Regions from separate parts of the Homo sapiens genome. Here regions 1 and 3 are each linked to region 2. Evidence: promoter capture Hi-C in 16 types of primary human blood cells and fetal thymus (Javierre and others, 2016). All regions are on one chromosome and are shown on one strand. The core of a region is centred on a gene start or on the middle of the fragment in contact, and the rest is flanking DNA. Distances in the headings are between cores, read along the strand shown.

Region 1 (4,500 bases), core at 276-2,775, 470 kb after region 2:
GTGCTCTAGCACTTACCATCAATGGAAGTGGGACAGATTTATGGCCTGGCATGTTCAACCTGAATTCAAATCTCCTTGTCTTTTTAAGATTTCACTCATGCCTTAATGACACCTTTTTTTTTTTTTAAGAAAGCTAATTGCATTGGTTTCTCCAAGAGGCATCACTTTGAACAATCCATCCTGACTGTGAAAACAAATATATGCTTGACTTATTTCATTTATTTTCTCCCAAAACCTAAATGAGGATAAAGCCATTCTGGATAAGAAGACATGTGTGTGTCTTTGTCACATCTTTTATCATCATGACTGCTTTTCCAAATAATACAACTTGTGACAAATGCGAACATTAATTACAGTTAACAAAGAAATGTCATGTGAAGTATTCATGGGGGGAGAAAAAAGAACCGAGACAATCAATGAGATTACATCTTGCACCAAGCTTCAAGTCAAAGTGCAAAAGTCAGAAATCAAATACCATCAGTTATCAAATTATGTTAATGATTCTAATGAAAGCTTCTGGTATTTTGTTCAAGAGTGTGTTGCTGTAATGGTAACTAATAGAACAAGAGAAGCTGATTGCCGCGAATTAATTAGAACTGACTGCTGGAGTTTCCTTTTTATTTATTTATTTAAATATTGACAACCTGTTTTAGATCTCGAGGTTTTTCACGTGGTCTTTTTCTTCGCTCCCCAAGTCATCAACCTGCCAAGGAGTGAGAATGTAATTGTGTTTTCTCATACTGTGGATATCTCTCACCAGCCTCAGGGTTTTGACCCAGACTGACAGCAGACAAATTAAACTGAAGTACCCCTAACATTTGGGGGGTTCAGTATGAGAGTCCAGATGAGGCCCCTTGCTCAATGCTCCCTTCTCTTTTCCTTCAGCCCCACATTCCCCCCACAAGAGGCCTTTGCACACATCCACATGGGCACCCAGCTTGCCCATCCAAGGTCTACCCACCAATGGCTGCTCTTTGGCTACCCCTTGGCCTTAGGGGTGCATGCCCGTGGCACCATGCACTATTGAGAGATAGGACCCAGGGAAGAGGTCATTGCAGGCGCTAGAAATGCTTAGGGTTGTTTGAGAAGTGAATTTTGGGTTCCGGGTAATCATAACATGGTCTACTAACTGGGGAGTAGGCTCCAGGTTGGAAATGCCCTTGTTCCCTGGACCTCTTTATCCCATAGGGGTGGGAGGGGATGGAGGAGGGCCAGAGTGGGCCTTCTAAAGTGCTTGGCCTTGGGCAGGGGGCTCTAGTTACTTGGATCTAAAAGCAGTACCGGACATGCATATTCTTTGCTTTGGGGTATCTAGAGCTCTCTCACTAAAATCTATTTTATTCTTTCTGTTTTTGTTTGTTTATTCATTCCTTCATTTATTCAACACTCACTTGGCACTGACTGTGCCAAGCTCTAGGACACAGGAAAATAAGGTCTCTCCCTTCAGGGATCTCACGGGCTTTTCAAATTTGTAATGCATTAATAAATACTAGATAGAGATCTGTTCAAAGTTCTTTGCCTTCCAGATCTGCCTTGTATTCTGTCCTCTGAGTGCTGTTCTTTTCTTCTTTATCATGGCAGCAGGTGTTACAGATCCTGTGGCAGTGAGGAGGGCCAACCCAGGGCTTAGAAGAGGGGACTGACTCTGGTTCCCCCGACAACCCCCCGTGCTGCTCCTTTAGGGCTCCCCAGGGGCCCTTCAGAGCTCCCACCCTCTGGCCAGAGAAATGTCCCCACTGAATCCAGATCAGAAGCAGATAAATGGAGAGTCTGGCAGGGGGCATCAGTCCCACAGAGAATCTTCTACAGCTATAGTGAAAACGCCCAGTCTAGGAGGGGCCGTTCTGACTGATGACTCCAGGCAGCCTGAACCAGGATCCTTTTGTGGAGCTTCTGCCTAGAAAGTGAATTGTGTTAAAATCAACGTATCTTGCTCTCATATTAAAATCCCTCTCTCTATTTAAGTCATTGAGGGAATTTCCTAAATTTTCCACCATGGAGGGAAGGTTTTGGTTATAATACCAAATGGATATTGACAGGGCCTTGCTCTTAGAAAACTAATCATGACATCTGGGTAACTGAGCACAGGTCAGCTCTGAAGCCCTCCCTCCTGGGTGTCGGGAAGCACATCAGACTGTGTTGAATTTCCTTCGCTGGCTAAATTGGTACATTAGGGCAAAAACGATGTCCACATTTGCATAGTTGATTTCATTACTATTGCCATTATTGATGCCTAGCTCCTCTGAAAGAAAGGAGCCATAAAAGCAAATAAAATCACTTCGCGATTCCATTATTGGATAAATTACCACATTACTGCCTGCGTTTTAGGGCTAAAGCCATTCCCCGCATTTGCATAGTTTATTTCATTATCATTATTAATAACAACAACAATAATAATGATGATGACTAGGATCCTTGAATGAAAGGAACTAGAAAAATGCCAGAGCCTCGAGAAGTCTTTATGGACTCAGTGCGATCACTAGGAGTCCCTTTATCTGCTGCTGAAATGCAGCCACTCCGTTGCATTGCACCAACCAAAAGCTTTTAACAGAGCTCCCGTTAAAGCAGTTCAGAACATGTGGGGCCGGGTGCCTGGTTTGAGATAGTGACTAGTTACTTGTGCCTACTAAAGATTTAGGTTGGGAGTCCCTGCTTAGCCCCTAACTAGTTCTGTCTCTTCAGGGATGTTGCTTAAATTCTCCAAACTTCAGCTTCTTCGCAAATGAAATGGGGATTATGACACTTGCTCTGCTGTGTGATGAAAAGCAAAAGAAATGGTGAATGTGAACATGTTCTATAGACCATAAAACTACCCATAGATTCAAGAGACTAATACTACCGTATTGAACCTTGGAATGACGGCTGTGGCTGGGATGCTGTACAGTGGAGGCAGTGGCTAGACTGTGTCTCTTTGGCTGGGAGAATTTTCTAAAAAACTACCATAGGTTTCTAAGGCATCATCCTCTATGATAAGTAGGGAGAGCATACCTGTGTATATTTACCAATCTTGGATATTTACAAATAGCTTACTTTGATAGCCAGCATTTCTGGGATGAGCTGGTGGCCCTGATAGTGTTCTTTCTTACTCAGCAACTTCTAATTATGCCTTGCTTTTCTCCTTGGTCATAGAGGCAAGAAGTATAAAGTCTTTTTGTCTATTAATTCTGAGGTCCTGTAGTGAAAGCAAGGTCCACTGGTGGCCGTCTATGGTTTGCTGGAGAATTTTCCCCCTGGTTTTGTTTTTATTATTTTATTTTATTTCTGCTGTACCAGGGGCTCCAAAAAAATGAATGTGTCAGTAAAGGATTTGACAGTATGTTACGACAGTCATCAATCCACTGAGCCCTGTAGCCATAAATAAGCTTCATTCGCTGCCACACTAAAGAGGACAGTTTTTCTTCTCCAGGACATTGAAAATGTCACAGCGAGGGAATTGTTTGTCCCTGTCTCCACGGCAACGCCACCAGCACTTATCATTAACTTTCACACCAAGATTTTAATCAGCGCTCTTTGCGGCCTGAGACCAAGTCAACATCAGCCCAAATTTTCAAAGCCGTTATTCTAATTATGACGAGAAAGCTATAGATTGATGAGCCGAGTTTTCTGCAAGGACTGGTGGCAGTTAATTCTCGTGACCTGTGTGGCTCGGGGAGTCTCTCTTAGAGATGGAGTCTTGAAAGTTCGATTATTAGTGACAGCTTGTAAGTGAGAGGAGCCTTATCTCTCCAGAGAGTGTTGATAACTTGAGACAAGGTTTAACTAGGAAGTAGTGAGACAGTGGAAGGAGGGGAGAGAGGGGGAGAAAGGGAAAAAAAAGTGCACACTCTATCTGCAGCGTGCATCCAGTGTAATGAGAAAATATGGACAGGCACAATTTCACAAGTTGTAAATTCTGGTAGCCTTCAGTTGTAAATTCTGGTGGAGGCTGTTTTACTCGGCTATCTGATAATGTGTGAAAATATTTGTCCCTTTGCTTCACAGGCATGGGCAAGCACTATTTTCCAGAAAATGCATTAAACTTCCCAGCTCTCTCCTGCCTCTTTTTTTTTTTTTTTTTTTAAATCATAGACCCTCTAAAAACAAAATGAGAATTTGTGATTGAAATGAAATGGTAACTGATTTTTTTTTAAAAAGATTCTCCCTAAATCAGACCTAGTGTTTGACAGAACAGTAGAATGACTATAGTTTACAGTAATCTATTGTATGTTTTGAAATAGCTAAAAAAGAATAATTCAAATGCTTCTAGCATAAAGAAAAGATAAATATTTAAAGTGATGAATATCCCAATTACATCAATTTGATCTTTAAAAATTATATGAATGTATGAAATTATCACATGTATACCAAAAAAAAAAAGAGTCTGTCAAAATGTTAAAAAAGACTCTTCCTTCTCATTTCCCTCAGCTGCCTCCCACCCCCAGCCTTTTTTGAGTCAGTCTAATTTCTAGAGATTTGGGGTTTGCAATGAAGGGGAGTAGCATGGTGCTAACCACTCTGTCC
Region 2 (4,030 bases), core at 1,261-3,760:
TCCCCTCCTCCTTCTCCTTGTTCTTCTATTCTGAAGACTAACTCCAAAAGCTGAGGAGTAAGGACAGGTGAATCCAGTTTGTTTCTGCTGGTGTCCTCCCCCAACAACATTCAGGAAATTACTTCTGCTACGGTCTGAACATTTGTGTCCCTCCCAAATTCATATGTTGAAATCATAACCTCCAAGGTCTTAGGTGGAGCCTTGTGGGGGGTGATTAGATCATTGGCGTGGAGCCCTCAGGAATGGGATTAGTGCTGTTACAAATGAGGCCCACAGGAGCTAGCTTGTCCCTCCTACCATTTGAGGACACAGGAAGAAGGCCGTTGTCTGGGAACCAGAAAATGGGCCCTCACCACACACCAAATCGTGGGTGCCATGATCTTCAGCTTCCCAGCCTCCAGAACTGTGAAAAATAAATTTCTATTGTTTATAAGCACCCAGTTTATGGCATTTTGTTACAGCAGTCCTAGTAGACTAAGACAACTACTTTGCTCAAGAACTTTCAATAGCTCCCTATTGTTATCAGTTTACAGTTCCAACACTAAAGCCCCCCTCCAACAGAGCTATCCTGATCTTAATTTTTGTGATTTCTGCACATGATCCTTCCCCACACCATCAACTGGCCTTCTTGATGTGTTCACCAAGCAGAGACAGCAGTAGGTGGGGAAGCATTTCCAGCTGAAACTAACAGCTTCTGTGAAGCCAGAGGACGGGAGAGCTGGGACAGGTGGCTGAAGAGGTAAGAATTGATGGGATTATAAGAGATCTTCAGGGACATACTAAAGATTCTGGACTGTATTAATTATTACTTGATTAGGAGCCATTGAAAGATTTTAGGTAGGATCTAATTGGGCTTTTAAAATGGTTGCCCTGGGGCTATGTGGAGGAGGCAACAGTAGTGAGAGGGTGTGGAAAGGGGGAAAGATGCCAGCCCACTTTGGTGACATTGGTAGTGTCTGCAGAACAGCCTATGCTCAGATGACCCAGCTGTGTATGGAGGCAGGGGGATGGATGAGATGACCTTCAGTAACCCCCTTCTGGTGGGGGAAGGGAGAGCCGTTCTCCAATCTCATCTTTGAGTCAGCTTGGGCCTGTTTCCACAAGTCCTCTTCCATCTGTCAAAGCCCTTCTAGGAAAGCTGAGCTGAAAGGCAGCTGCGGAGGGCAGAGTGCTGGCTGGGTCCGGGCTCACTTCCTCCTTTTCAGGCAGGAAAAGCAGACAAAAGTGCACAATGGACCAGAGAGGGCGCGTCCAGCAGAGAAGGAGGGAGAAGGCGGGGGAGCTGGTCCTTGGGGCAACAGGCCTGGGAAGGTTCCCTTTGATCCCCTTATCTCTGGAGGGTAAGCTTTCTTTTTTGGCCTGCAGGACCTTTTGTTGCAGCATTTCCTGGAATCCCCCAAAGTAAACACAGTCAAGACTGCATTCTTACTGCTCTACTCTTCTGAGCCTGCTCCTCCCAGCTGAGAGAGGGGCAGGAAGGTCAACCCTCCGAGATCAACACTGCTCATCAAAATGCTGACAAGGGCCCACCTAACAATGTGTTAGGACCGGGGCTGTCTGAGAGACGATGCCAGTTAAGGCTGGGCTGGCTCTTAGCTGCAGCAAGAGTGGAAGATGACAACCAGTTGATATCTGGTAGCTCTGTGCATCCTGGACTTGGAGGCAAGAATAGGCAAGGAGAAAATCTGGATCCTTCCAGAGAATTTCAGAGAAAAACAGGCATGGGTTTAGGGAGTTACCTGCCCACTGGGCCTACTTTCATCCAGACAGGAGGCCCGTGGCCAGCTCTTCCAGGTGGGGATGGGGTGGGTGGGGAACAGCGAATAACCCCACTGATAACTTCAAGCCTCACAAATCTCTTGCCCTCTGAGGAGCAGGAGAAGAGAAGCCTGAAATTTGGGGTCACCAGCCAATTATCCTTCCCCAGGGTTTATTATTGTCAACTCTTAGAGGCCACAGGGAAAGGGTGGGGTGGTCTTCACCAAGCCAGCGTTTTATTTATAGGGAAATTCAACCCCCCCAATCCCCCTCCCCTCCTACAAATGGAAACTGGGCCGCACCAGGAGTCCTTCAACCTTCTAACTTTCCCTCTCCCCAGCTTTGATGAGGAGGGGCGTTCAGCCAAGAGGCCCCTCCTCGCTGCAGTTGAGGTCCATTATGTAACCCAGCTTGCGAAATGCAGGAAAGGCCCGGCTGGCTACAGCCCGGCTAACGGCTCAGAAAGGGCGCCCCTGATAGGAATACCCCCACCTCAGGCGTGGCCCAGACAAACGCGATAAAGCTGTGGGCATGGAGTTTTGGGCATTGGGACATCCGGGGGAGGGAGGGGCGCGGGCAGTCGGGGTCAGGCCGCCGTCGGGGCGCGGGGCGCTGCGGGCCACCTGTTGCAGCGGGCGGCCAGGGCTCACCTGCGCGGAGACCGGGCCGAGGGGCGGCGGCGGCGAGCGGCGGAGCTGAGGTCCCCGAGGCTAGCCCGCGCCTCCGGCTTCCGCCGGGTCAGCTGACTGCCCAGTGCGGAACTGTGCGCCCGCCGCGCTCCCCTGCCGCGCTCCCCGCTGCTGCCGCCGCGCCCCCGCGCTCCGTCCCGCGCGCCCGCAGCGTCCTGGCCGCCATGGCCGGGCTCGTGGTGCGTGGAACTCAAGTAAGTCCCGGCCAGCCCCGCCTCCGCCCGGGGCGCAGTCCGCGTGGGGAGGGACAGCGGGGCACAGAGGCTCCCCAGGGCCTAGACACCCCTGTCCCCGCCTCAGGGGGCTGCGTCTGCAGGGGGTGAGCTTCAGGTGCTCAGGCTCGCCCTAGTGGGGCTAGGACAGACCTCGTTTCGGGCCTGGCACACCCCCTTGATGTGCGGGAAGAACACCCGCAAGGTCTCCCGTTCTCCCCACTTCCTTCTGCCCTTAGCGCCTCACTGAGCAGGCCCAGCGGACACAGTGCTGACGGCCCCCGCTGCTTTTGGGGGCCCACAGAAAATGTTCCAATTTCATAATCTGAATTTTAAAAACTTTTGGTCAAAGAATCCATTTTGATAAATCACATTGATATAGTCATCTTTATACCAATGCAGTTGTAATATACAAATTTACTTATTTGTAAATGGAGGAAGGGGTTTATGAAGGCAAAAGTGTCTAGGGTACCCAAAGTCCCAGCACATCCCTGGAGATGAGGGTGCTGGTGGGCCCTGCGCTGAATGGGCTACGCCATAGCCAAAGGCTGATGGAAGGCCACCGACCTCCAGTTCTCTTTCCACACTCGATTTCTTGAACAGGAGTCTGTGATGAATGGCAACACGCCAGTTTCAATCCTGGGTGCCAGACACCCAGTCTCACATGCTTTGAGCTCTGTAGTGAAGCCTCAGGTGTTCATTGTTGGAGGGATGAACCCAGCCACTCTGGGACCAGGTGTCTTTCTTACCTGCTGGAAAAGCCAGTTCTCTGTCTTTAACCTCTTCTCTGCTCTGATGAAGCCAGAGCCCTCTTACTTCCCACCTTTCCCTGCACACCCTGGAGAAATAGTTCTGAGTTTTTGAAGCTCTCCTCTTGGATTGCCTAAGGCAGGTAGTGTCAGGCACAATTGGATTTTGAGATTACTTTGGGCTGAAGGGAATGATTCCTCCTTAGAGGAGATTCTAGGGGTTTTTACAGCTCCTACAGATGCAGTGAGGGCCAACTGTGCAGCCCATTAAACTAGCCGCTGCCTGTTTTCTTTTTTTCCAGAGTCCTGTCGTTTCATCAGGTACACATGTTTATTGAGTGCCTACTGTATGCCAGGCACCATGCCAGGTGTTGTTGGAAATTAGCCTTTCCTTTGTCTCTGTGCACCCCCCATTTAACAGTTTTGTTGCTCAGGAATGCTGGCTCTGTCCCTTGACCCACAGCCTGGGAGGAGAGAGCTGGAGAAAGACCAGAGTTCAGAAGTGAGTTAACAGCCTGCGGAGAGGCTAAAAATGACGGGTCTTGTTCAGCCATCGGGGAAAGGGGCTTTTTTTTTCTGGGAGTTAATTTACTGCCTGGAGGGAGGGGCTGGACAAGAGGGT
Region 3 (4,088 bases), core at 524-3,023, 340 kb after region 2:
CCAGCTTGCCCTGGGAAGCTTCTTGGAATTTGGGTGTACACCTTCTGAAAGTGAATGGATTTGAGTAAAATTTAAGAAAAATACAAAAGAAAAAGGAAAGCTCTCCATCTTGTTAAAATAAATTTGTTCAGAAAAGTATCGTGAATGTCTATATTCATTCCACTGCGACCTTGCCACTGTTGACATTTTAGGTAGAAAATTGTTTGTTATGGGGGACTGTCTCATATGTTGAAGGATGTATCACAGCATCCCTAGCTTCTACTCACTAGGTACCAGTAACACATCCTTTGTGACAATTAAAAATGTCTCCAGACATTGCCAAATGTCCCTCTGGGTCAAAGTCACCCCTGGTTGAGAACCACTGATCTCAGGTTAGCACAGAGAGGCTGCAATGGAAAGATTGTAGTATGTTAACTAGGTGAAGGGATTGACCACTCCCAGTTCTGAGCAATTTGATGGGTTCTTAAAGAAAGCACAGCCCTTGGAGCTGGGGAAGGAAGTTTGTGACTCATGGTGGTGAATCTAGGGGGTTCCTGTGTGGGTCCAGTGGAGCAGGTCTGGTGAGAGGGGACACTGGGAGCCCCAGAACTCCGAGCCCCTGGGGGACGCCAATGAAGCTGTCTATGAGAAACATGTGGGAAGAGGGAGACAGATGAATGATGAATGTTTTCCACGTCCTTGAGTTGTGGGTCACCTGAGGTCTAGGCCTGCGGTGAGGCCACTCACTCATTTCAGCTCACACTTCGCCCAGTGAGTAATATTTGTTCCAGCCTTTGGGTCACTGTTTACTCTGCCTCCCCTCTTGTCAGTTCCCTCTGGCCTTCTTTATATCTTTCTGAATATGAGTCAGTCTTCAAGATCCAGCTGAAATTCTAGCTCCTAATGGAGCTTCCTCAACTATCCTGGCCCACGTTGAGTTCTTCCTGCTCTAATGCTCACATTACTTACCAGAGCTTTTATTTGGGCATTTAATCAAAGGTAGTTGTGTTTCATTATATTCACATCTTGTGTGTTTCTCATGTCCTCACTGAGTCTGTAAGTTCCTTTAAGGCTTAGTCTGTATCATTCTTTTAATCCGCCATGATACACAGCATAGTATGAGTACATGGTAGGTGTTCAGTACATGCTAAGTGAATCAGAGTAAATGGAAGTCAGTCTTCTTGCTCATCCTCTCAGTGTCATTTATGTCTTCCAGATCCTCTCCACACACTCCAGCCCTATTTCTTTAAATAGTTTAAGGAGACAGCACATTGTTTGACAGTTCTGCAAACATAAAAAATAATTTATCTCACACTTAATTTTTATCTGAAGACAAGTTTAATATTTTCAAGCATTACATTTTTATTTTTAAGTTCTTACATCCTTTTTGTTTCTCTTAATGTCATTTTGGCTTCAAAGGGTATAATTTTGAAATTATGAGTACTGTAGGACTTGTTAGTATTTCTTCTTTGTGTGTATAATGTTTCAAGAACTGTTGATGGCTAAATGTCATTTTTATACTTTTTGGATTCATAACAGTTCAGTTAAATTCAAAAATAATTAATAATATTATGTATCTTAGAAATAGCTGTCATGTATCTGGTGGATATGACATATTGTTAGATATTTTAAGTTAAAAGTTCTGTATGCAGGCCAAGTTGAGAACGATGAGGAGCAGACTGTTTTATAGACAAGCAGAAGGATATAGTAGATTTATGACAAAGCATATTACCATAATGTAACCATGCTTGGAAAACTGTGTGGCTTCTCAACTCAAAAAATAAACTAGTGATCAGTAGCCTATCTCAAACACTTTTTTTTTTGCTTTATTTATATCTGGTTTCATTCTGAAAACAGCAAGACAACTGACAAGTTAAATAAGATATTACCACTAAATAACAACGTACCCACGGCAGTTTTCCCAGATCCTTGAGGGCAGCTTAGACATATTGGCTCTTTGATTTTTAGAACTTAAGCAGGGATGAAAGCTCTCCATAAAGGGTCATTGTTTCCAAAATGGAGCTTTCCAGGCTGGAAGGAAACAAGGCTTTCAAGAATGATATCAGCGGTGGGAGGTGTGGGGGAGGATCCCCTGGCCTAGCCTCAGTCGGGAAGTGGTTTATCTACATTCACTTAGCTCTGTCCTAGTCAATTGAAACCAACTGGCCATTAACTTTTCCTTCACAGAAGTGGATTGTTCTTCCACTGTAGATTTTGTGGGGCCTTCCTGAGAGGGGCCTATCAAGAAGGTTAGGCCTGTCCACACAAGGATTCTCCATGTTATTTTTATAGGAAGAGGTCAGATTTAGCCTTTGCAATTCTTTTGGTCTGACTCAAACAAGCATTGGAGATTTTCCTCTTATAAATCTGTTTTTTTGAGATGGGGTCTTGCTATGTTGCCCAGGCTGGAGTGTAACAGCTATTCATAGGTGCAACCACAGCACACTACAGCCTCAAACTCCTGAGCTCAAGCAATCCTCTTGCATCAACCTCTCCAGTAGCTGGGACTACAGGCATGCACAACTGTGCCCGGCTTCCTTTTATAAATAGGTTTTCAGCTTGCAAAGAAATGAGCGACAGCTTATTGCATTGATTCTAACAGTGTTGTATCCTCAGGTATTGGAAAATTCCACTAGTGGTCAACATAATGGGTCATGATGTCCCATGTGGGGACTTAACCACAGTCAGTATGATCCTGGTCCAGTGGTCCCCCGAACATGTGTGAGTCATATGTAATGAGGATGTAAGCAGCTCTTGTGCGTGGGGAAACCTCCCACATCCCACTGAGGAGTCTCTGTTTGAGCTACTCCAAAGGAATCTCTTGGTGGCTCCACAGAGCAGTCTTCTTGTTCCCACCTCAATTCTTATGGCATTGTCCAAGGTAGCAATGTTCCTGGCTGTCTTTTCACAGTCTTACTTTCAAGGAGCTCCAAAACCTCTAGAGATCTCCAGCGTAGAGGTAGACCTGGAAACATGACAAGTGCAGGCCTTGGGGATGCTGACTTAAGATTCTGAGGCAGAAGAAAAGTGTAGAGAGCACACTCCTCTGTTTGCCTCAGACCTGGGGGCCAGGACACTGAGCCTGCTATGAATACCCAGCTTGAGGAGTTTAGTTAGCAAACCATGAGGCTACTATAATTTGCTTTAATATCTGCCTCTTTCCCTTTGCTGTTGATATTAATTAACCTTACCCCAAACTCAAGGAGAAGCAGAGAAGAAGCTATTTACAACTTCCTTTATTATTGATCAACTCAGAACCACATTCATTCAGTGCCACTTAGATGCTGAACACTGAGGAAAGCATTGTGGACCAATGATGGAGAAAGCCTTTTACAACTGCTGCTATTGCTGCTTTTTCTCTCGAGAACTTGAGAATTTGGGTCCTGGAAGAACTCACAGAGATGATTCAGTCCAGTAGTTCGCAAGGTTCTAGAAATCATCTGGGGGCATATTGGAGGAAGAAGGGACCCTGATCCACTCTCAGAAACCACTAGGTTTTCCTGTACTATTTGTTGGACTTGATTTGGAAAAAGAGTTCTGCATGCCAACATAAGCTTGAAATGCAGCCTTCTTATTTTACAAAGGGGGAAACTGAGGTTCATGGGCCAGAAGGAACTTAAGATGGAAATTTGGGGATTATTTCCCATTCCATGTTTGGCTGTATCCCTGTAATATTTTCAGTGCTATTTTGGGATTCATATTTGTATCAGTTACCAGAGATTGGTTCCCCTAAGTAAATCAATTGGACACTATTAGCAAGGGAATTGCATGCTGTACATTTTACCCTGTCTTAGAGAGAAGAAAAGTTCCTATCTCCTGTTTGCATATCTTTTATGAAAACAATTTAAACCGCACCTGTTTAAACCTTTCCACAGAAATGTCTGAAAGGTAAACAGTTGGTTTTGGAGCAGCTATAACGTGGCATTGTTTAACATGGCAGCTCACTGATGGTTGTCTTTAATTATGGCCGTGCTGTCAACCCCTGAAGTCCCTGCTCTTTGTTGTAGATCCGATATGACGTTTGAGGTTTTCAAAGCTGCAGAGATGAAAGAATCAACAGTCAAATATTGCTCATTCTGATATGCTTAAGGAGCGAGGAGGGGGCATTG

What was found. Contacts are between HindIII fragments. The CHiCAGO score rates a contact against its expected background, and 5 or more counts as called.
Region 1: a contact is called between a fragment that was not itself captured here and the fragment with the promoter of LRMDA in region 2, in 2 of 17 cell types (endothelial precursors and megakaryocytes). The highest score is 5.3, in endothelial precursors.
Region 3: a contact is called between a fragment that was not itself captured here and the fragment with the promoter of LRMDA in region 2, in 1 of 17 cell types (monocytes). The highest score is 5.8, in monocytes.

What each region holds. Positions count from the first base shown.
Region 1 is chr10:75,901,197-75,905,696 of GRCh38, forward strand. All of the region lies in intron 2 of LRMDA (leucine rich melanocyte differentiation associated), which reads left to right. Among named protein-coding and RNA genes, the nearest start is that of MIR606, 350 kb to the left of the region's middle. The HindIII fragment of the contact is 2,028 bases long and covers 512-2,539 here.
Region 2 is chr10:75,429,114-75,433,143 of GRCh38, forward strand. It overlaps LRMDA (leucine rich melanocyte differentiation associated), which reads left to right and starts at 2,511. Exons shown (of 7, transcript NM_001305581.2): 1 at 2,511-2,641. The coding sequence starts at 2,612. It overlaps LOC107984293 (a long non-coding RNA gene), which reads right to left and starts at 2,497. Exons shown (of 2, transcript XR_001747703.2): 1 at 2,409-2,497; 2 at 1-1,197. RefSeq lists enhancers at 2,319-2,819, 2,820-3,320 and a silencer at 2,461-2,560. The HindIII fragment of the contact is 4,872 bases long and covers 1,344-4,030 here.
Region 3 is chr10:75,772,907-75,776,994 of GRCh38, forward strand. All of the region lies in intron 2 of LRMDA (leucine rich melanocyte differentiation associated), which reads left to right. Among named protein-coding and RNA genes, the nearest start is that of MIR606, 220 kb to the left of the region's middle. RefSeq lists an enhancer at 1,865-2,159. The HindIII fragment of the contact is 3,515 bases long and covers 17-3,531 here.